Linked DNA regions of Homo sapiens: region 2 is linked to region 1. The links are contacts of gene promoters, found by promoter capture Hi-C in human tissues and cell types (Jung and others, 2019). All regions are on one chromosome and are shown on one strand. Each heading gives the region's core, a stretch centred on a gene start or on the middle of the fragment in contact. The rest is flanking DNA. Distances are from core to core; before and after follow the strand shown.

Region 1 (6,992 bases), core at 2,732-5,231:
GGGACAGATACATCCCAAAGGACATTCCAGGGATAGATACATCTGTGAGCGAAACAAACAAACAAATACCCTCTGGGCATTCATATTCTAGTAAAATAAAATGGATAATTAAATATTCTAAATAAGTAAAGCATGCTACTTTAATTACACATGTTAAGTAAAACTTTAAAATCCAAGATTCTCTACAAAATGCTGTTTCTCATTTTGTTCAACATTTCTTCCAACACTTCTCAGAAATATTGTCAAAATGGCCTAATCAAATACTTTTGAACAATGAAATATTTGCAATCTACTTGAGTAATAAAATTCACTTCGATTTTCCTTACTGTAATTACACAGTTTTGAAAGTACCAGTGTCATTCTTACAATGAAGATTTCAAGAGAAAGTGACTACAATGGCTGTAAGATTATGCTTTGAGTTTTTGTCAAATCAACTTTGCAAATCAACTCCAATCTTATTTGACAGGTACTTTATGGTTTCCATTCAAATCAATTCTCTGAAATGTTTCTCATACTTGACTTCAGTATCACATATCATTCCTTGCATAAGATTTAAAGTAGCTGGTAAATATATTAGAGATATTACAAATGAGTTTATAAATATTAAACAGTTAATCTCTAAATTAACTCTATTACGCTATCCAGGTAACCCTGTAGATAACTTGAAAAAAATTAAGATAACTTGATATCTGACAAACTAAATTTCAAAGATTCAGACAATCATAGATATGTATACATAAGCCCCCAAAAAAATCATCTGCACCCACTCTCAACACTGTAATAATGCTTTTCACAAACACATTCAAATATCATTTATATGCTAATTACCTATGAAAATTTAAGCAGGTATATTCACTTAAAGAAGCATAGCGGTCAACTATAAAAAAATAGGAGTCAACTATAAAATCTTCATTTGAATGATAAAGTTAATTTTTTTATATATTTTCTTAAGTATTTGTCTCAACATCCATTGGATGAAGTATAAAGTGAAACAAAGAAAATAAACTTCATTTTCCCAAGCTGGAGGAAATTAAGCCTTAAAATTTTACATATTCGAAATAACAACAAAAATCTAATTCGAATATAGCTGGGTGAATAGGATATCAAGAAATTACTCAAATGGTTTACCTCACAAAATACACTGAAAAAGGTAGTTTTCCCATACAGACTAATGTTTGAGTATTTAAAAATATCCCATCCATAAAGTTGACACTATATTTAGGCATCAATATCAAATTGTGTGTGTGCTTGTGTTTTTAATTTTATTCACATATCAGTGTCCTTTGTTATTGGTTAATAGCACAGAGTACGCATTTTGAGTGAATTCTTGAAGACTGAGTTAGGATGGATGTACTCTTTACCATATATGATCACCTACTTTCCCTTTTGATTAATGAGAGTTACATATTTGAAGAACAGATATGATTAGGGTAGTCCACAGCCACAGACCAAAATGACTCTGTATAGCCTCAAGGCGACTTGCACCAAGAAAAAGCTTATTTTCATATTTGGTCACAGCACAACTAATACTGAAAAGAAAAATCCAGGCACAGAATTTACATCCCTGCAAGGATCACAGCATTTTAAAGGTGCAAGGACAGAGCATTTTAAACATTTAAGCAATGCAAACGGTGCATTTGTTGTATCATCTCCAAAAAGCCCTGGCCATCACAGCTCTGTCAATAAGTGTATGTCAAAGTCATATTTCTTACGCAGATGTTCAGAGGTGATGACACGATCGTATTTAAAAGAAAAAAAAATCCTCCCAGAAAGTCTATGTGAAATTATATATCTACAAGAGAGCTTATCAAGAGGAGTAAAGTAAAAGATAGAAGACGAAAAGACTCAGGAACTGTCCTAACACTCAAGAATTTTCTAGATCTTCTATATATGACTGAAATCTTGTAGAAGAAATGATTCCAAGTCCCGCAGGGAAACTTCTTTATCTTAGCAGTCCCTCAGAAATCTTCTTTTAATCCAGATGGAATGATCAGTTATTGCTTCAAAAGCCTTATGAAGATACAAAAATGGGGAAAAGCTGATGCTAGAAAAGGGGAAGAGATGCCTGCTCACTTCAGACACTATGCCATCTGGAGTGAGTTCCCTCTTATTTTATTCCTCTCCTTTTTGCTGAAAATCCTGCCCATCTCTGGAGATAGCTCAAGCTCTACCTCTTCCACAGAGATGGTCCGTGTTATTGCAGCCCACACACATCTTGCCAGTGGGAACAATTCCTGTAAAGTTTAACTGGGTACACCAACATACCTCATAAATATTTATAACATTCTCTTGTTTTATACTAATTTCTTGAGGTCCTCCTTCTTCTACTTTGTAATTTTTTAAACCTCATGCAATGCTTAATAACACTTAAAGTGTGTATTAGAAGTGTGACCATTAGCCATTCTGCCCAGGCTAATAAGGTGCACAAATGACATCACAAACCCTTCAGAGTCTAAAATGAAGCGGCTCACAGATCTGTGCAAGTTCTCCAGCTAAGTCCATATCTTCTTAAGCTGAGTCAGAGGTAAAAATTGGAGAAAAATCAGCTTCTGTCAAATAGGCAAGGGGAAGATCCTGGGAATATCATCTGCCATTTTTGGGCTCCAGTGTCCCTCCGTGGCTAAGAGGACTATCGGGAATCAGATTGCCTAATTCTAAGTCCCAGCCACACTCCTATGTAAATCAGTTAACCAATCTGACCCTCAATTTCCCCGTATGCAAAACTGATGGTGTCTATGACATCAGGTTGTGGCCAAAATAAAGTGAGATACTGCAGTCACAGAAAAAATTAGCACAGCGCCTATAACATTAGGCACTTTTGATATAAGATAACAACATTGACAGCTTATCTATAAAATGTGTGAGCTGACCTAGGTTATCCTTAAGATCTCTTCTCGCTCATATTCTATGCCCCTGTAAGAATAGGGACCAGAAATGTCAGAAAGGAGTGTCCCCTCCAGCCATCCCTTGAACAAATGACAGCCTCTAGGAGGCAATTCTTTGATGATTAGCAGGACGGGAGGCTACGCGGCCTGGGCCCTGTCCCCGTTACAGGGTGTCTCCCTTCACCTTCACCACCGCCACCCCTTATGCCAGCATTGTCTGAGCGCCTACTGGGTGCCGGAACCAGCCTCGGCCCTTGGAGGCTCACACGGACGGGGAGGGGGCAGGCAACACTCACTTGTTCCTGCGGATCCACTCGATGAGGGCGCGCACCTCGGGCACCTCGTCCAGGGCGGGGGGTTCGCCGGTGCTAAACTGGTCGGGAAAGCTTCGGTTGAGGTCGCGGCCGCGACTATTGTCGCGGCCGCTGGCCCCGGACGGGCCGCCGTCGCCGAAGCCACAGTCGCCCTCGCGGGCACGCTCGAAGCCATCGGGGTTGAGGCTGGGCAGCAGGTACACGTCGGTGGTGTTGAGCAGGCGGACCAGGCGCGGGTCCCCGCGGCGGTAGCCGGCCGCCAGCTCGCGGGCCAAGTAGATCAACACCTGGCGCGACACGGTCTCGTCGCCATGCATGTTGCCCACCAGCTTCACCTGGGGCCGGCCGGGCAGCAGCGGCCCCGCAGCGTCGGGCCCGGCAGCGTCAGGCCCCGCGTCGCCCTCAGGGATTAGCGACCCCAGGCCGGCGGTGAGGCGAAGCACCCACAGCGGCCGGCCTTCCACCGAGCGGCCGATGCTAAAGAGGCGGGCCAGGCCGGGGAGGCCCGCGGCCGCCGCCTCCCTCAGCGCCGACTCCAACTCCTCTTCGTGGTAGTAGCGGTCGAACTGGCCCTCGGCCGCCTCGGCGCCCGCGCTCGTAGTTGTGGTAGTCGCCTCCGCCTTCTTGATGTGAGCCGCCCGGGCCGAGCTCCCCAGCAGCAGCAGGCACATGAGCAACAGGAGCCGCCCTAGCCGCCAAGGCGGCCGCTCGTCCCGGCCGCTCGCCATCTTCCAGCAGCGCCGCTAACCCCGGCTCCGCTCCCGCGGCTCAGCGCTCCGGGCGGCGGGGGCCCGCCGGATCCCCTCCTCGCCTAGCAACCCCATCCCGCCCTCTGGCCGCAGCCAATCGCGGACGGGCCTGGTGGAGCGTCACCACCAGGGGGCGGGGCTTCCCTTAAAGCAGCCGATTCCCTCTGGGCGGGCCTGCCCTCCTCCCGTCCGGGACGAGTTTGGTCACTCTCTTCCTTCGCCAAGGTTCTTCTTCTCTTCTCCTCCTCCTTGTTTCGTCTTCTGCGTGTGCTCCGCTTCTCGCTTAGTCTCTTCTTTATGGCTTCTCCCCTAAATTATCACCCATTTTTCTCTGAGAACTCCTGCTAGTTCTCTTCCCATCTTTGTTGCTGCCTTTCTCAGCTGCGCTTTAATGCTTAGAACCGAGAATGGAAAGAATCAAAAGGTTCGAAAGAATCATAAGACTAGAAAAAATCAATAGGTTCGAAAGAATCTTCGTTCGGACACTCAAAGCCTTAGCCCAGTCTCCTAGGCGCCTTGTCTCCGCATCCACCCCGCCTCCGCTGGAGCCCCGCTGTCCGCGTGCGGTTGCACGGGACGCCTCGTGGGGAGGAAGGCTCGCACCTCACTAGGCGGTGCATTCATTTTTAGAGTTGCTTTCTGGAAAGGTGTCTCTTTTATGCCTAGCGGAAATGTGCTACGTAGTAGGCTCCCTTTGTGTTAATGTTGTCTATTTCTTAGGCGTCACCCCACGTTGTTTTACTGCAAATAGGTCCCTGTGTGTGCTGGCCTCGACCCTCATTAGGCAGATTTCATTTCACAGCTCACCGGCCCACTTCTCCCACCTCATCGGAGCAAGTTGTATATTTAACTGTGCCCTGGAATGACATATTTTAAAACAGCAGGTTTGACATTTCTGGAAACACTTGCTTGGCATTCCTGAACTCCTCAGTGTCAGCCAAAGATGGCAATTACAGCGTTTCATCAAGTCTAGAGAAGAGGTCTTTTAAATCACCTTTTATAGGCTTTAGTTTCTTTAGCTTGAAGAAACCCAAAACTATCCCTTAATCGAATGCGAAATTCTACCCATCTAACAACATAATCGCAATAACCGGCATTACCTTCTTTCAGAGCCAGCTATTTCAGGGCCCCTTCCCTGAACTATGACTGAACCCTACTTTAATAGAGTTCATTCATTCGTCAAGTATTTATTGAGCAACTTTTATGTCAAAGCTAGATGCTGGGAAACAATTCATTCTTCTGCCCAGTCAAGAGATTCAGTGTAGTTTGTGATAAATGCTACAACAGAGGGGGTACAGGTGAGGGAAATATCTGAACTTGAGGAGGAGGAAAGGAGGAGAGAAACCATGGAGGATGGGAAGGATCCCAGGCAGGAGGAGAAGCAAGCAAAGAAAGCCGCAGGATTTGAGAACAAATGCCTTGTGTTCTGGGAATTGCATGCAGGGTCAGGATTACTGGTGTGAAGGGGCTCACAGGCCAGTCTTCAGGGAGCACATTTGATCTGGAAGGCCATGGAGAACCACAGACGGGTTTTAAGCTAGTTTAGAAAAATTCCTCTGACAGTAACACGGAAAATTGAATGGGAGGCCTAAGACTTGAGGCTGAGAGACCTGGAAGGAAGCTGCAATCCAGGAAGACATGATGAGACTCTGAATGAGGGCAGTGCCAGTGGAGGTGGAAAGAAGGAAATGGATCTGAAAGACCTTCGGAAAGGAAAGTGGACAGGATCTGGAGACAAAGAGGATTGTAGGCTGACTTCAAGTTACAGCCTAAGCAACTTGCAGGTATTCACTGAGGTACAGGCCAGGAGAAAGCACAGGTTTAGGTGAAGATGATTAATTTAGTATTCTGCCATCAGAGCGAGCACCGTCACTCCGGTCCTGTGAATGGCTCTTCTCCATGCCCCATTTGATCTAGTCTACATTATGCACAGCAGCTGCAACTCATCAGAAACAAAGCCACAACTCTGTACAGAGAGACCGCCCACCACCTCCCGGGAGTGCTCAACTATTACACCATGCACTTTTACAGTAATCCAAGTCAAAGAAGCCCCAGAGGACATGTTAACTTCTAATCAAATATTTCCTTTTCTACCACGTTCACTCTCCTTTGAAACCTCTTCCAGCCCCTTCACTCCTGCAGCCTCGCCTAGAGAGGCAGCCTGAAATGTAAATAAACAAGCATGAGGGTGGTGAAATAATATGGGAATGTAACTTGAGCCGGTGTCCTCTCAGAAATCCCCAGGCCTTCCGTGGGCCTCTTTCAGGTCTGCAGCCTTCTTCCTTAGCAGGTACACAGTTGCTTATGGTTATAAGTGAAACCCAAAGCTCTGGACCTCAGTCACTTTTGTGTTTACCTACAGGTTTGTGTTTACCTACAGCTGAATACCTCCAATTGTGTCTGAGAAGTCTTGAACCTTATGACAGGTGTTTCTTTCCTCTTTCCCCAAGGAAAAGGTGTGGCCTTACAAATGGAAGGGACTTGGGAAAGGCTTGAAGGTAAAAAGGCTTCCTGTTCACAGAAGCAGAGTGGCAATGACTTGGATTTTTTTTTTTAATTTTTGTATTTGATACATGATAATTGTACATATTTATGGGATACATTTGATATTTTGATACATGCATACAATATATTATGATCAAACCAGGACATTCTGGATAGCCATCACCTCATTTAGCTCAAAGAGATTTGAAATGTTTCTAGCACCAAGAAATGACAAAGAATTGACGTGGATTTTTTAAAAACAGGGCAAAAGCTTTTAGATGACCAGCCTGATTCAAGAACCATTTTCTTCACAAGATTCGTAGGTAATTAAAGCATAGCATAGACCGGGAACTTGTAAGTGTCTCATTGTCCAGCACAAACACCTGCAGATTTACAAATTCAATTTGACAAATGTTTGTGGAGCACCCAATCTGGCGAAAGGTCTGTTGTGCCAGGTACAGGAGGATTGGAAAATGAATGAAGGGGATCTCTCCCCTCCCAGAGGACAGAATCTAGGAAGGGACACAGAACATAGACACAACACAGGACTGGATGTGTCT
Region 2 (7,097 bases), core at 4,552-7,051, 410 kb before region 1:
GTGGGGTGGAAGGAAGAGGATGGCTTGAACCCGGGGTGTGGAGGCTGCAATAAGCCGAGATCACGCCACTGCACTACAGCCTGGGTGACAAAGTGAGACCCTTTCTCAAAAAAAAAAGAAGGGAGATAATGATGTGATGGCATATTTTCTATGGCCTTCCCAAGAATACCCCATATTCAGCATGTGGGCCTGTCTGCTTGGTCCAAAATGGCTCCGTTCAAAATTTTTAAGCAGTGATGCTGAGAGAAGTCATTTTCTGTTTTTTACCTAACATAAAGCTTTTCTCCCTAGGTGGATGATGACTTTACAGCCCAAGATTACAGGCTCCAGTTTCGTAAATGTACTTCAAATCATTTTGAGGATGTATATGTAGGTTCTGAAACTGAATTCATAGTATTGCACATAGACCCCAACGTTGATTACCAGTTCAGAGTCTGCGCCCGAGGAGATGGCCGACAGGAGTGGAGTCCTTGGAGTGTCCCCCAGATAGGTCATTCCACATTGGTGCCTCATGGTATGCTGCTAACCTTTTCTCTCCTGAAGCCTAACTATATATTAGAATACCTGTATTCTGTGCTAAGGGCAGCACACTGACAACCAGCTATTCTAAGCATAGATCCTGAATTGATAAGAACAACATGCACCATGTCTTTTACTCAGATTACCTCATGTGATTTTTGTTTTCATCAGTTCTTCAGAGTCCAAAAAAAATGCTGGACAAGATTTTTAGCCTCATTGAAAACCAAAGATTGAAAATATTATGTAGGGCACTGATATTCCTTTTTATTCTTTTTTTTATATTTGAATGTTATTTAGTTAGTTTTTTTGAGACAAGGTCTCACTCTGTCGCCCAGGCTGGTGTGTGGTGGTGCAATCATGCAGCCTGACCTCTAGATCCTTCTGCCTCAGTCTCCCAAGTAGCTGGGACCACCTGCATGCACACCACACCTGGCTAATTTTTTATTTTTTTCTAGAGACTGGGTCTTGCTATGTTGCCCAGGCTGGTCTCAAATTCCTGGGCTCAAGCAATCCTCTTGCCTCGGCCTCCCAAAGTGCTGGGATTACAGGCGTGAGCCACCGCGCCTGGCCTATTAATTAGATTTTTATCAGGTTGGAATAAGTTCAAGCAATTATGCTTGTACAATGATTTTATTAGATAAGAGATAACACTTGTGTGATTTATTATGTCAAAATTATGCAGGAATATACTAAAATCTTTTGTAATTTGTGGGACTGATCATGATACCCTGTTAATGGAATCTTTTATTTTATTGAACTTGACCATGGCCCCTAAGAGTAGTCTCCCATTTCCATGTTTTATTTAACGTGTCTGTATTGAAGATATCCCTCAAGAGATTCTAACAGTTTTCAATATCTTTGCTTTGAAAAAGAGTGGACAGCTGGTTTTGAGGGGTACAGTCTGAGCAGTCGAAGAAATATAGCACTTCGGAACGATTCTGAATCATCGGGTGTTCTCTACTCCAGAGCTCCGACTTATTTCTGTGGGCAGACATTAACATTCAGGCAAGTAGATATTAAAACATCTCACCTGCCTCAGGAAGCAGAGTGAAGTGCATAGAGCATACATAAGCTTTGAATTCAAAACATCCTGAGTTTATTCCGTCATTTATAGGCAGTGTTACTGTGGGAAGGCTTCTTTATTTCCTGTAGCTGTAGTTTTCTCATCTGTATTCACAGGGTTATTACGTAGATTAACTGGGAAATGTATATAAAATGCTTGTTATTTAATATGTTTATATCTCTTTTCCTCTTGGTAAGTAGAGGTAAGTAGAGTATCTCTCAAAAGTCAATCTTAGGCTGGGCATAGTGGTTCACACCTGTAACCCCAGCACTTTGGTAGGCCGAGGCAGGTGGATCACCTGAGGTCGGGAGTTCGAGACCAACCTGAGCAACATGGAGAAACCCCATCTCTACTAAAAATACAAAATCAGCCGGGCATGGTGGCACATATGCCTGCAATCCCAGCTACTTGGGAGGCTGAGGCAGGAGAATTGCTTGAACCCAAGAGGCAGAGGTTGCAGTGAGCTGAGATCATGCCATTGCACTCCAGCCTGGGCAACAAGAGCGAAACTGTGTCTCAAACACACACACAAAATTAAAAAGTAAATCTTAAAAATTTAGAGGCCTGGCCAGGCACGGTGGCTCACACTTGTAATCCCAGCACTTTGGGAGGCTGAGGCGGGCGGATCACGAGGTCAGGAGATTGAGAACATCCTGGCTAACATGGTGAAACCCCATCTCTACTATAAATAAAAAAATTAGCCGGACATGGTGGTGGGTGTCTGTGGTCCCAGCTACTCGGGAGGCTGAGGCAGGAGAATGGCGTGAACCCGGGAGGCGGAGCTTGCAGTGAGCCGAGATCACGCCACTGCACTCCAGCCTGGGCGACACAGCAAGACTCCGTTTCAAAAAAAAAAAAAATTTTAGAGGCCAAGAGACTGGACGCAGTGGCTCACACTTGTAATCCCAGCACTTTGGGAGGCCGAGGCGGTTGGATCACTTGTGGTCAGGAGTTCGAGACCAGCCTGGTCAACCTGGTAAAACCCCATCTTTACTAAAAATACAAATATTAGGACAGGCGCAATGGCTCCCGCCTGTAATCCCAGCACTTCGGGAGGCTGAGGTGGGTGGATCACAAGGTTAGGAGATCAAGACACCACCCTGGCCAACATGGTGAAACCCCATCTTTACTAAAAATACAAAAATTAGCTGGATGTGGTAGTGCACACCTGTAATCCCAGCAACTAGGGAGAGTGAGGCAGGAGAATCACTTGAACCCGGGAGGCAAATGTTGCAGTGAGCCATTGCACTTCAGCCTGGCAACAGGGCAAGACCCGTCTCAAAAAGAAAAAAAAAATTAGCAGGGTGTGGTGGCACACACCTATAATCCCAGCCACTCAGGAGGCTGAGGCATGAGAATTGCTTGAGCCTGGGAGGCAGAGGTTACAGTGAGCTGAGATCGCGCCACTGTACTCCAGCCTGGGTGACTGAGCGAGACTCCGTCTCAAAAAAAAGAAAAAAAGCATAGGCCGGGCACTGTGGCTCATGCATATTATCCCAGCACTTTGGGAGGCCGAGGTGGGCAGATCACGAGGTCAGGAGATCGAGACCATCCTGGCCAACATAGTGAAACCTCGTCTCTACTAAAAATACTAAAAATTAGCTGGGTGTGGTGAGGTGCGCCTGTAGTCCCAGCTACTCGGGAGGCTGAAGCAGGAGAATCACTGGAAGCCTGGAGGCGGAGGTTGCAGTGAGCAGAGATCGTGCCACTGCACTCCAGCCTGGGAGACAGTGCAAGATTCCGTCTGGAAAAAAAAAAAAAAAAAAAAAAAAAAAGCAAAAAAATTTACTGGCCAAGAATTTGTTTTGTCCTTTGTGAATCATTAACAGCAAGTCTTTGTAAGAGACAACACTGTAAACATATTATGTATATGCTACTCTCTAAAGTAAAACTGAAAGCAAGCCTCCCCTACCACTAATTAATGTTGTTTCTCTACCCATTTCTTTCTGTAATGGAAAAGTTTCTTTTTTCTTGTTTTCATGTTATCTGAGATGTATTCTTTATAGTCATGTTTCTGAATAGCTCTTCGTAGAAACTAAAGACCAGTTTTGACTTAGAGAAGTAAAGTTTGCCTGATTTTCACCATACTCACCTTAGTGTAACAAGCTCTCCTCTAAGTTTTAAGTCTTGAGATGGGATTTTATTGTGAATGCTTGACCCAAGTTCCTTTTGTTCTCAGGCCCTTATTATTTAAGGCATGGAGAATATCTGAATATTTTATCTAAGCCAGTGTTGCTGTATTCCTCTCCAGCTAAGTAATTTGAATTGTCAGCGGTTGTCAGATTATACTAGTTTGTTTTGTCTAATTTTTGACACCTCACCCCTTAATGAAGAATGACTCAGTAAACAGAAAAATACCAACAAAGAGAGAGAGAGGAAAAAAAAAAACAACTAATACCTAAAATCTATTTAACTATTCCCCAGGTAATCATGAGTTTTCTGTACTTACATACCCCTTCTCTGCTTATGTCCCTTGTTTACAGAAGCACTTCGGTTAGTGACTCTCCTGAGAACAAGGTATTTCTGTGCAATGACAGAGCTTCCTAACTTGATAAATTCAGGCCAGATATCTCAGACTGCAATAATGATGATAATAATAATAATTGCAGTTAATATTTAAACAGTATTTACTATGTGCCATGTACTGTCTTAAGTATTTTACTTGTATTAACTCATTTGATTTTCATGGTAACCCAGTGAGATAGATGGGTTATTTATTTTAGGGATGAGGAAACTGAGGCATAGAGAAGTTATTTACCCAGTGTCACACAGCTAGTAAATGCCAAAACTAGGGTTTAAATCCAGGCAGTTCGACTCCAGACTGGTCTGTATTGCTTCTTTTTCATGGGAGAGTTAACATGATTCTAGTTAGTGTTGAAGTCTACAGTTTCTCTATTACTGTGTCCTTAGCTCTTTAACTTTTACCTCTTATGACCTTTCACCACTTGATCTGATGCTCTCCTGCTTTTTAAATTCTTCCTCCTTGGACACATGGTAATGTCTGATAGATTGCATAGTTAGGTTTATTTCTTAGACCATTCAGTAAATATTTATTAAGACATTGGAAATTATACAAATTGATTTAAATTCACCTCTGCTGACCGTGATGTGAAAGACACATTAGGTCTCAATAAACTGTTGAGTCTCTCTTGCATCTCCTAAAGATGCATCACCAGGCCCCACTTGGCAGGGTGATTAACTGAAATTCAGTTAAACTCAATATAATGGTAGCCAGCCTTTTGCATTTTTGTCATTTTTTTCTTTGTGGAATGAAATGTTTTCTCCCCTTGTTTAAAGGAATTTCAGGCATCAGCAGTGAAGCCAGAGATGTGAATGCAAGGGGGACTCCATGCATAAGGGCATAAGGGAGGAGCAAGTGCGCCTACTTGAATCAAGAGAAACAATATTTAGTTTTTTGAGGGTACTTAAGGGCCTAGTAGTTAGAAGGGAGACTATACTCTTGAAGGCACTACGTTAGCCGGGCACGGTGGCTCACGCCTGTAATCCCAGCACTTTGGGAGGCTGAGGTGGGCAGATCACGAGGTCAGGAGTTCGAGACCAGCCTGGCCAATATGGTGAAACCCCATCTCTACTATAAATACAAAAATTAGCCGGGCGTGGTGGTGTGTGCCTGTAATCCCAGCTACTCAGGAGGCTGAGGCAGGAGAATCGCTTGAACCCAGGAGGCGGAGGTTGCAGTGAGCCGAGATCACGCCACTGTACTCTAGCCGGGGCAACAGAGTGAGATGCTGTCTCAAAAAAAAAAAAAAAAAAAAAAAAAAGAAGGCACTACTTTGTTATTTATCCCAGTCAGTCCCTGCTGAAGCTTCTGGAAGGCTTGGAGCTGCTGAAGCCAGAGAAACCTGTGATACTGGCTGGATTTTAACAGTCTCTAGACCCACTCTCATTAGATGCCCAGGTCTGCTAGCAACCCCCTCCTTCCAGGTCTCCCTCACTTCCTATGTGAACATTCCTGCTCTTTCCTTGCTTCTAAGATTTTCTGATTTTTTTTAAGGTTTCCTTCTTTCTTTTCTTTTCTTTTCTTTTTTTTTTTTTGAGACAAAGTCTCATTCTGTTGCCCAGGCTGGAATGCAATGGCACAATCGGCTCACTGCAACCTCCACCTCTCAGGTTCAAGCGACCCTCTCACCTCAGCCTCCTGAGTAGCTGGGACTACAGGCGCCTGCTACCACGCCCGGCTAATTTATTGTATTTTTAGTAGAGACGGGGTTTCACCGTGTTAGCCAGGATGGTCTCAATCTCCTGACTTTGTGATCCGCCCACCTCGGCCTCCCAAAGTGCTGGGATTACAGGCGTGAGCCACTGCACCCGGCCTATTTTCTTTCTCATTCCCCTCCCCAGCTCTCCCCCTCTTTTTGTTTAAGACAAGGTCTCGCTCTGTCGCCCAGGTTGAAGTGCAGTGGCATGATCTCAGCTCACTGCAATCGCCATCTCACAGGTTCAAGTGACCCTCTCACCTCAGCCTCCTGAGTAGCTAGGATTACAGGAGCCACTACCACACCCAGCTAATTTTTGTATTTTTTGTAGATACGGGGTTTCACCATGTTGCCTAGGGTGGTCTTGGAACTCCTGACCTCAGGTGATCCACCCTCCTTGGCCTCCCAAAGTGCTGGGATTACAGGTGTGAGCCACTATGCCCGGCCCCTCCTCCCCATACTTCTTTAGACTGCTCAGATATGAAATAACTTCAGAAACCTACCCAAATATTATGATCCTGCATGTTTGCTATTTCACAATCAATGACATTTTGAGGCCACATTGACTATAAATAATCACATCTGTCTTTGGAAAAGCCACATTTTGTTTCACACTAATTTTTTTTTTTGTCCTTGCAAAGTTGGCTTTCTGGATGGAGAGAATGATGTGTCTGGCAATAGGGATCTGTACATTTCCTATTTCAAGAGCACACAAAGTACTGACATCTGAAATGAAAACACAAAAGGAAAAGCTTAAACTTGCCACATAGGAAGTTCTTCATGCTTGAATAGTGTCTTCATAACCATAATGGGATTTTTTAGGATTATAATAGTTCTTTTTAAATGCTTTATTTACTTAACAAATAGTAATCAAATCATTGCAAATTCTTATATGGAAGATTTAGGCGCTGGCAGCAATAGTTACATAAATTATAATGTCAACTATGACAAACCTTCTATGTGTCTAGAGCTAGAATATAAAATAGAAGTGTGCCATCATGGCTACAAATGGTTAAGAATATAGATTCTAGGCCGGGCACGGTGGCTCACTCCGTAATCCCAGCACTTTGGGAGGCCAAGGAGGGTGGATCACCTGAGGTCAGGAGTTCCAAGACCAGCCTGAGCAACATGGTGAAACCGTGTCTCTACTACAAATACAAAATTAGGCCAGGTGTGGTGGCTCACGCCTCTAATCCCAGCACTTTGGGAAGCCGAGGCAGGCGGATCACCTGAGGTCAGGAGTTCGAGACCAGCCTGACCAACATGGTGAAACCCCGTCTCTACTAAAAATACAAAAC

Evidence for each region. Contacts are between HindIII fragments. The study calls those that stand out against the background at their distance.
Region 2: a fragment that was not itself captured here is called in contact with the fragment with the promoter of CPD in region 1 in 1 of the 25 tissues and cell types used here (dorsolateral prefrontal cortex).

Annotation. Positions count from the first base shown.
Region 1 is chr17:30,375,916-30,382,907 of GRCh38, reverse strand. It overlaps CPD (carboxypeptidase D), which reads right to left and starts at 3,981. Exons shown (of 21, transcript NM_001304.5): 1 at 3,182-3,981. The coding sequence starts at 3,927. RefSeq lists silencers at 3,506-3,635, 3,936-4,175 and enhancers at 3,153-4,080, 4,226-4,395, 5,666-5,715, 5,966-6,255. The HindIII fragment of the contact is 4,583 bases long and covers 2,384-6,966 here.
Region 2 is chr17:30,786,867-30,793,963 of GRCh38, reverse strand. It overlaps CRLF3 (cytokine receptor like factor 3), which reads left to right. Exons shown (of 8, transcript NM_015986.4): 5 at 292-514; 6 at 1,392-1,524. It also overlaps the pseudogene SUZ12P1. Among named protein-coding and RNA genes, the nearest start is that of CRLF3, 34 kb to the left of the region's middle. The HindIII fragment of the contact is 4,601 bases long and covers 3,501-7,097 here.